Regions from separate parts of the Homo sapiens genome. Here region 2 is linked to region 1. The links are contacts of gene promoters, found by promoter capture Hi-C in blood cells and fetal thymus (Javierre and others, 2016). All regions are on one chromosome and are shown on one strand. The core of a region is centred on a gene start or on the middle of the fragment in contact, and the rest is flanking DNA. Distances in the headings are between cores, read along the strand shown. Region 1 holds the start of ANKRD6 (ankyrin repeat domain 6). Region 2 has its middle 100 kb from the start of MAP3K7.

Evidence for each region. The method cuts DNA at HindIII sites, captures the fragments that hold promoters and counts their contacts. A CHiCAGO score of 5 or more calls a contact.
Region 2: a contact is called between a fragment that was not itself captured here and the fragment with the promoter of ANKRD6 in region 1, in 4 of 17 cell types (fetal thymus, total B cells, total CD4 T cells and 1 more). The highest score is 6.8, in fetal thymus.

What each region holds. Positions count from the first base shown.
Region 1 is chr6:89,430,804-89,435,714 of GRCh38, forward strand. ANKRD6 (ankyrin repeat domain 6) reads left to right here and starts at 2,349. Exons shown (of 16, transcript NM_001242809.2): 1 at 2,349-2,572. It overlaps LOC124901360 (a long non-coding RNA gene), which reads right to left. Exons shown (of 2, transcript XR_007059675.1): 1 at 2,614-4,911; 2 at 1-1,784. RefSeq lists a silencer at 2,141-2,620. The HindIII fragment of the contact is 1,573 bases long and covers 1,577-3,149 here.
Region 2 is chr6:90,481,038-90,485,948 of GRCh38, forward strand. No RefSeq gene overlaps it. Among named protein-coding and RNA genes, the nearest start is that of MAP3K7, 100 kb to the right of the region's middle. The HindIII fragment of the contact is 3,323 bases long and covers 356-3,678 here.

The DNA.
Region 1 (4,911 bases), core at 1,099-3,598:
CAGTTCCCAGGAGCGCTCACATGTCTTGCAGGCTGGCTTGGGCTTTCTGTTTCTTTCGGGGTCATTGCTCTGACTACCCACAAATATAACTTAAAATCTCATCTCAATGTGACTTTCTGGTGATGTTTTAAAAGCCTATCAGGGAAACTGAGCATTTGCATCTTTGGAAGTTTATTCGAGGGACTAGCTAGGAAAACTCAATGTGGAAAAGTACAAGAGAGAAATGATCACATTGAAAGGTCATGTGGCTGGGCGCGGTGGCTCACACCTGTAATCCCAGCACTTTGGGAGGCTGAGGCAGGTGGATCACAAGGTCAGCAGTTCGAGATCAGCCTGACCAACATGGTGAAACTCCGTCTCTACTAAAAATACAAAAAAATTAGCTGGGCGTGGTGGCAGGCGCCTGTAATCCCAGCTACTTGGGAGGCTGAGGCAGGAGAATTGCTTGAAACCGGAAGGTGGAGGTTGCAGTGAGCCGAGATTGCACCACTGCACTCTAGCCTGGGCAATAAAAGCAAAACTCCATCTCAAAAAATAAAAAGAAAGGTCATGTGTACAAACTTTGACTTTGAGGGTTATCTAGGAACTCATTAGTAACCTGCCTGGAGAGAAACCTGGAGCTACAAGCCAGCAGAGAAAGGAAATGTGTTCTTCTATCAGCTCCAGGTGTAGAGCAACAGGAATGGGGCACAAATCTGAAGAAGGGCTGGGCGCGGTGGCTCACACCTGTAATCCCAACACTTTGGGAGGCTGAGGCCGGAGGATTACTTGAGCCCAGGAGTTCAAGACCAGCCTTGACCTCCTCTGTGTTAAACATAAAAAAATTAGCTGGGCATGGTGGTGCACACTTGTAATCCCAACTATTCAGGAGGCAGAGGCAGGAGGATTGCTTGAGCCCAGGAGTTCAAGACTGCAGTGGGCTACTGCACTTCAGCCTGGGTGACACAGCAAGGCCCCATCTTAAGGGGGAAAAAAAAGTCTGGAAAAGGCCAAAGGATACTCAGAAGAGAGATTTCACATCCTGTTAGGTAAAACTGCAGCTGTGACTATGGGGTTGGGAAAATTTCAGAAGCAGTAGGAGAAAATCAAGAACTTCCCCTTCCTAGTGTGGAAACAGGCTCTTGGGATCTCTCCTGCCTAATGATCCCTGAAGGAGAGAGGGAAACAAACATCTTAAGGAAAAGGAAGAAATCATCATGTTTCTTTTCTCCTGGAAACCAGGCCTGTTTCAGAGGGAATAAGAAAAGTCGGCTGGGTGCAGTGGCTCATGCCTGTAATCCCAGCACTTTGGGAGGCCGAGGCTGGAGGATCACGAGGTCAGGAGTTCGAGACCAGCCTGACCAATATGGTGAAACCCCATCTCTACTAAAAATACAAAAATTAGCCAGGGATGGTGGCGGGCACCTGTAATCCCAGCTACTCAGGAGGCTGAGGCAGGAGAATCACTTGAACCTGGGAGGCGGAGGTTGCAGTGAGCCTAGATGGTGCCATTGCACTCCAGCCTGGGTGACAGAGTGAGACTTCGTCTCAAAAAAAAATTTTAAGCAAGAAAGAAAAAAAAATCAGATTCGTGATAAGCTTGTCCCAAAACCTCAGGTAAGATTGATAGTCCATTTTAGGGTGCTGCTTGCCTCCTCTTCCATCTCTCCGCCTTTGGAGAGCAGATACCTGTCCATGCTTCTTCAAAGGGTGGAATGAGATCCCATCCATCTTACATGTATTCAACAGTAGCTTATTGAATGCTTCCTGTGTTCAGGGAGCTCTTCTAGGTATTGAAGAAGTGGCTGTGAATGAAAATAGACAAAACCAGACTGAGATAATGGTATGTAAAGTGTGATATGAATATGGGGGTCAGGCTCGCTCAATGCTTTTGCCATTTCCATATGGGATGATTCCAACAAGATACTTATAGTCAAGCTGTTAGAAATAAAGGCTTCCTTTCCCCTCTCCAGCTACCCCAATAAATCTGGGTCATTCATCATTGTTGTTCAGTTTGTACTGAGCAGCCCCAGTTAAGTGAGCTATGGTTATATTGAAATATCCACTTGGCCACGAATTGAGTGAAGGTGGGAGGTTCCTCCTGCTAATTCTCCTCCCCTCCCAATACACTTCCTGGCAACCCCCACGCGGAAAACCTCACCCTACTATAGGCCCCCTTCCTCCCACTCTTCAGAAGGCGGTGGCCCCACCCAGGAGAGGGCTGCAGATCGGGGCCAGCCCCAGGGCCTCCGCGGTGCCACCTCTCTCTCGCGAGGGTCCCTGCCGTGCCCCGGCTCGCCGCTGGGAGGCGCTGCGGCACCGGCGTAGGAGCCGCCGGCAGGGGTGGGGCGGGGCCGGCGGGACGGGGCAGAGGGCCCTGCGGCGGCGGACGCGGCGGGCTCGGCCACAGGTAACCCGCAGGAGCCGAGAGCGCTGCCTGGCGCGCGGGCGGCTGGAGGCACGGCGCTGGGCGGCGCCGAGGCCCTGGGGCCGCCGGAGCCAGCGGGAGCCAGTCCCCGTCTTCGCCCCTCGCCCCCCACCGTGTCGCCGGCCTTGGTCCCTGCGGCGCGGACGTCCGGCGCGGGAGAGAAAGGTACCAGGCGACCTCGCCGGCTCCCTGGGACCCCCGCTTACACCGGGGTGGGCGCCTCAGGTCGGGGAGGACGCTGTCGGGGGAAGGGGGCGCTGCTCCCTCGGCACCCCAGGATCGCCGACTGCCCGCGGAGGAGACCCGGACACCGCGCCTCGCCCCCTGGCCTGCGGCCTCCGAAAACGCCCGGCGCGAGGGGGTCCCCCCGGGGCGCCTCCCTCTTCGCCTGGCATCAGTTGCCTCCCTGGAATATGGAACTTCGGGCGAGGGAGGTGGAGAACTTTCTTCTGGGGCTCGTCCCTCGTTCTCCTGCTCGCTTGCAGTTTGAAGGAAGGGCGGTGGGGGCGGGGGTCCGAGTACCCCGCGGTCTGCGGCGCGTAGGAGGGTAGGTCCCTGGCCTGCGGCCGCCTCCGAATGACCCCGTCCCTCCCCGCCCTGGACGACAGCACTAGGGTGCAGTCGCAGGAGAGGGGCCGATACCCCTCAGGAGCCCCATCGGCGAAGCCTCAGCAAGTGGCATCTCCCGGGGTCCAGAGAGTCGGCGTGCTGTCTGGTTTGGGTCCAGACATCAGCTCACCCAAGCTTATCTTGGGCTTTTAAGTGTGTTGCTTCCGGTAGATCTCGGGGACTGGAGGGGAAGTGCAGCATTATTTGTGACCCAAGAGGGACTTGAATGTCTCAAAGCTGGTCAAGAATGTTTCCCCCGCGAGGTAGCATGAGATGGGTCACGTGGTAGTAAAGAGCCACTTCGGGCCCGTGAGATGGAGTTCTGACTCCACCACTTGTTAGGTGTGTGACTTTGGAAAACCCACTTCTTTAAACCTTAGTTTTTAGAACTCTAAACTGCAGGTATTGTACATAACCTCGTAGTATTGTGTTCATGCAGTGAAGTGATGGGAATGAAATGCTTGGCATTGTACTCTTGTGTGTTAGACACCTTTTGCGAACCTGTTGGATGTTGAATTCATTCATGCTTAGGTTCTGTTAGGCCAGTGTAAGTGGAAAGAACTTGGGCAATGAAGACAAACACACCTGGGTCCAAGGTGGTCCCATCCATGGTATACTGATTGGGGGTTTCTCATCCCCAAAACACCAATAGCAGCCTTGGCGGGGTTTTTGTTGTTGTTGTTTTGAGACAGAGTTTCGCTCTGTTGCCCAGGCTGTAAGCTTTGACCTCCTTAGCTCAACCGATCTTCCCACCTCAGCCTGGGACCACCACACCTGGCTAATTTTGAATTTTTTTATTTTACTAGAGACAGAGTCTCACTGTGTTGCCTAAGCTGGTCTCGAACTCCTCCTGTCTCAGCCTCCCAAAGTGTTGGGATTACAGGTGTGAGCCACTGTACTGGTCTGCAGCCTTGTTCTTGAGTGTAGTAGGTGTGTCTATACCGATACATGTTACACTTTGTCATCTTTAGTATTTGTTTAGCATATGGTAACAAAAAATTTTTTAAAAATTAGGGATACAAATTAAAATTGGGGAGTATTTTCTGCCCTCTAGGTCATACTGGACATGGGGGAAGGGTAGAAGAGGGATGAAGAGGAATTAAAGAGACCAGAAAACAACTAGTCGCAGTGTTGGGAGGTATAAACCAATGGTAATTTTTAAAAATGTGAATTTATTAACTCCTTGTTTTTTCATGGTGGCACCAAAAATTAATCTTAGTCTCCCACTTAAACTCATCAGCCTCCCCAAAGCCTTTCCAGATAAGCATATGCTCCATGTAAAAGCAGACTGCCTGCGATCCAACTCAGCTTAGAGACAAGGCACACTTCCAACTCCCAAGGCCTCCTTCTTGTATAGAGATGCTGGTGCTGCCACTGTGAAATACATCATACACTCAGACAGTATAAACCTTAGAGTGCAATGTAAAGAATAACAATAGATCACACCCAAGTACGAGTCACCCGGCTGAAGAACTAGAACATCGCCAGGCCCCTGGAGCCCCTGAGTACCCCTCTCCATTGCCTTCCACTCACTTCTCGCCTCCCACCCAAGGAACCACTATTCTGGATGTTGTGTTAACTTTTTCCCTTGCTTATATGAAAAACCCTGAGGAAAGGAAGTTTCCCAACAAGCATTTCCACAATAACCTGGAGCATTCTTTATTTTTCTTTTTTTCTCAAGGAGCATTGTTATTGAACTTAAAAGCAGGCTATTGAGGGTAAGATACAAACCACAAAAAAGCCGAAAGTCTCAAAGTCGGGGGATCTTTTAGTCTCTGTCTTCTTCCAAGTTTCTCCTGTCTCCCTGGCACGGATCCCGAAGGTGTGTTCTGTCTGTGTAGGGGAGACCCAGTCTCTTCCAACATAGATTGATGGCTGTGATTTTAAAAGCTTTG
Region 2 (4,911 bases), core at 767-3,266, 1.0 Mb after region 1:
ATAAAATGCCGTTATGTCCTTTTAAATTACCAAAATGTGAAGAGCAGATTGAGCCAGGCCCATTTTTGTGCTACGTTACTACAGGAGTGTCTAAATTCCCAAGAATTAGATGGCTTCCTCCATCTGAGTTGCAGTGAGGAATGATTTCCTGTTGTCTGCTTTGGGCAATTTCCGTTTTTAAATAAAAATCTTTTAAACTGATTGTACAAATGTCTCACCCGCTTTAACGAGTAGTCCTTTAAATTTAGTACAGAGAAGAAATTTTATGTGTATGTAAAAATTATGTGTGTGTATACATACGTATATCTACATATGAATGATATATGCATGTAATTTTTCATTTAAGTTCCATGTAAGCTTTCATGGAGGTACACATGGAAGTAAATGCCAGCTGGTTCCTCAGAGGATCTGAGGCATTTAGAGGAAACACGGAGGGTATAAAAATAAAATTTTAATAAAGAATTAGCTCCCAAATTAGAATAGAATGGCGAGACGTCTGCAGAGTCCGCATGACTTCTATGTGTGGAGGACTTGGCAGTTTTGCCCCTCTTTCACACGCGTCATCTTGCTCGGTCCTCGCAGCAATGATCCTGAGGTGGGCAGCACAGGTGTGATTTGATTGTCTCCATTTTACAGATGAGGAGACTGAGAGCACATCAGTGAGGAGCAGAGTGGGTCTTTCAATTCCAGGCGGAGACTCTTTCGGCAGGGAGGCTCCCTCCATCTAGAAACACAATTTTTAAACTATCAGAACTCAGTAAGGAGGGACAAGTAGGGATAAGCAGTGACTGACCACCTGTTAACATCATCCTGATACCTAAATAAAAGTGATGTAAAACACCATGGGGTGAATGTGCCTTCATAATAAGTTATGCGGCTTTGGCTGGTTTGTTTGGCCACCTCGCTGGACTTACTCAGACTTTGGATTTTCAGAAATATTTTATATACAATTATGCCTGAGAATGTTCCTAGCATACTGCTGACTGGTTGTTAAGCATGTGCAGAAATAGCATCCCACAACAACAATGTGAGGAAGGGAAGGTAATATCTTTTCCTCACTCATGGAATGAGGGCCTTCGGACCTACTTCAGAGGAAGGTCAGAGAATTCTTTCATGGCCTGCTTCAGGGGAGAATGGCAGGAAAAGGTCAAAGAGACCTTCCTGCTTCTGTTTTCTTAAATGCTGAGGTGCTATGTATTGCGGTAGCATGTCTTGAGCCTCATCATCATCAACAACAACCACCACAACAACAATAATAGTAAATAGCAGCTACCAAGTGTTGATTGCTTACTATGTTCTAGACACCTTGTCATGTGATGGTCTTTCCCATTTAGTTCTCTGTTGATATGGTTTGGCTCTGTGTCCCCACCCAAATCTCACCTTGAATTGTAATCCCCATAGGATCACCACATGTTTAGGGAGAAACCTGGTGGGGAGTGATTGGATTATGGGGACAGTTTCCCCATGGGCCTCGCTGGTGATAGTGAGTGAGTTCTCACGAGATCTGATGATTTCATAAGAGGCTCTTCCCCTTTCACTCATTTGCTGTCTCTCTTGCCTGCCACCATGTAAGATGTGACTTTGCTTCTCTCTCACCTTCCACTATGATTGTAAGTTTCCTGAGGCCTCCCCAGCCATGCGGAACTATGAGTCAATTAAACCTTTTTCCTTTATAAATTACCCAGTCTTGGGTATGTCTTTATAGCAGTGTGATAATGAACTAATACATCTATCTTCTTTTATCTCAGGTAAATATTCCATTTCTGCCAAGATGCCCACCAACCAGTGCATGCCAAGACTATGAGGCACCATGAATCCCTGGCTGGCTCACATGAAGGCAAATCCCCTTCAGGACCAGGAAGGCCCAGGCCACTTTGTCCAAAGGTGGTCCAGTTCCAGATACTCAGGTCTTCTTTAGATGTCACCTTCTCTTGACCTGCTTTCTCTTGGCCTAGCACCTCTTTCAGTCACCACCGATATCACTTGCTTTCAGATTCAGATATCTAAAGACCCTCCCCTAGGGCATAACGTCCCGTCTCATCCATCTTTATGAAGATAGTGCACAGTGGGGGTGGGGGGTACTTGAAAGACCTGGGCTTTCAGATTGTGCAGACCTGGGTGTGAGCTGGGCTCCACTGTGTGCCAGCTGAGATTGAGTGATTTGCTGAACTGCTCTGCACTTCAAGTTTCTCATCTGTTAGCAGGGATTTAAAATCTGTTTTGCAAGGATGTTGTGTGGAGATGAAATGTGACATCTATGTGATGCATGCAAACAGTCCCTGGCACATAATCATTGCTTGATGCCATGACTCAGAGGCTCTGCCTGGGCCCTTGCCCAAGCTCTTCCATCCTTTTTATGTCCCTTAGTATCTTTCTTAGCTCCTATCATAGGAGATATCTGGGCAAGCACCAGCCCCATCCCACAATTTCTACCTCCTTCCTCCCCACTTTCACCCTCCAATTCTGGGTCCGTGGACTTAGTTACATACTAGTCAGCTCTCTGCCAGCCCTGAGGGCCTGGCTGGACTCCTGCTGGATGGGACCCTGTGCCTCGGGTGCAGGGAGGATTTGGACAGTCTTCTAGCAGCCTCTGCACCATTGGCCACGGAGTTGAGGGCAGTGGATCCCTATGGTTCATCTCAGTTGCTGTGCCATCACGACTGGGGGGCAGGGCGGGGAGCGAGTGGATTAGATCTCAATGTTCAAGTGTGGTCTGTAGACCGGCAGCACTGGCGTCACCTTGGAGCTTGTTAGAAATGATAAATCTTGGCCCACTGAATCAGAATCTTCATCTTAACAAGATTTCCAGTCATTCCTTCTGAGCCCTGGGTTAGCCCCCAGTAGGCAAGTGCCCCTCAAGTCACTACACAGGAGAACTGTGGACAAGGTAATTCTTCCCTCCAGGGTCAGCAAAGGTATCTGCAAATCCTTTAGTAGGGGTGTATGTGTTTAAAACACTCACAAAGTCTAATTTATTTATGCAGGAATCATTTTTAAATTTCTTTCCGGATTGTTAAGGTAAACCTTTGAATCCTCAGACCGATATATGATGTAGGATGTGGCTGGCCTTGCTTCACGTATAGAAGTCACACCCCACAATAACAATGTAGGGGAGGGAAGGTCATATCTTTTCCTCACCCATGGAACGAGGGCCTTATGACCTACTTCAGAGGAAGCTCAGAGAATTCTTTTACGGCCTGCTTAGGTTAGCGGGCCTGTGCCCATGCCATTCAGTAAAGTCTCCCGGAACCATACCCACTCTGACGCTTTCTCATTACGGAGACAGAATCACACACACAGACACACACACACACACACACACACACACACAGGCCATGACATGATGTTTTCCACCCCAGAACCTGTGCTTATATGTTATCTCTTCTGCCTGGAATGTCCTTGCTGTCCTTTGGGTGAATTTTAGTCATCCTTTAAGTTTCATTTAAAGAGACAGCTCAGCCACAGTGCCCTATGTAAGATGGCTGTGTGATGGTGTTTCTGCTGTTACCACGTTGCATTCCAGTGTTCTGTTGATGGTGTGATCACCTCCTGGAAACACTGAACTCAGTGAGGGCAAGGTCTGTGTTGTATTTATTCATCTTTGTATCTCCTACACCCAGCACAATGACAGGCACGCTGGAGATGCCCCATAAATGCTTATTGCATACACAGAAAAAAAGCTTAGCTTGCTATGATGGCTTTTCATTTCGTCCTTTGAAGTTTAATCAGAATAAAAGAAAATAACTGCAGACTCTAAACGTTTGTAAAGTTTCTGTAAAACCTTACAACCCAAATGGAAAAAAAAAAAGATCAAAGGGAAATTAGACAGCAATTTGTTTTAAAAAAAATGTAGTGGCATTTTAATTAGAGAATATTCTTCTCATTGAAATGAGAAACTCCCAGGGAAATACTTGATATGTTAGAGTCTCCCTCCTCACATTTTTTTCTCCAGCTATTATGGGACCTGCTGAGCAGGCTTTGTGAAGGAAAGCTCCTAGGATGCTGCACAATGAAGACACTCAGCACTTACACAGCGCTCTGCTCTTGCCACAATTAAGCCTTTCACTTCTCCCGGCCCTGCAGCGGGGGAAACCCGAGTTATTTACTGAATTTGCTGGCTAGAAGGCCCTGAGGATAAATGACTTGTTCGAGCCTAGGCAACTGGACTGTCACAGGCAGAATTCAGAGTTTTGGACCTGTTTCTTATGTCAAGCAGTTTGTTCTGACCTCAGAAGGGAATCCCTTTTTAATAAGCAATGCACATGGACCCCAAAGAGTCCCCAGAAGGTGGTCGTTTGGAGGGGATCACTGGATATCACAAATCGGTAACATTTTTGAAACTCAATATGGGGATGACTGTAGGATTGCCATCTTTTAATCTTGCTAATTAGGAATATGAAGAAAATATATGGCCGGAATTATGCCTTAAAGAAAATAAATGTCTTATACTAAAAAATAAGGAATTGTTTCAGAATAAAGCCCAGGTTTTTTTTATTGAATATATTTAGTTTTATTAAAAACACAGCACATTGTAGTTATTTTTATCGTTTTACAGGAGACCAATGAAAACTGGCAGTTTAGTGTTTGGGAACCACTGTTTTTAACTAAATATGCTAGATCCATATTTTCTGTAGAAACCCCAAAGCCAACCTTCTCTAGCAGAAAAGTGAGTTAAGATTCACCTGCTGGCATTCCACGCCCAGGGCAGTCACCCACTTCCTCTTTCCACAACTGTGGAAGTAGGCGTTACTTGACATTCTGAAAGTACGTCAGAAAGTAATCCTGACAGCACTTTCTGTAATTGGTGTGTTGTTGCTGTGCTTCATGCTCACTAGAGAGAGAAGATGGAAGACTAAGGAAGCCTCGATGCAATCTTTCCTACTGAGTTTTAGGTAGGAGTAGGTGATACAG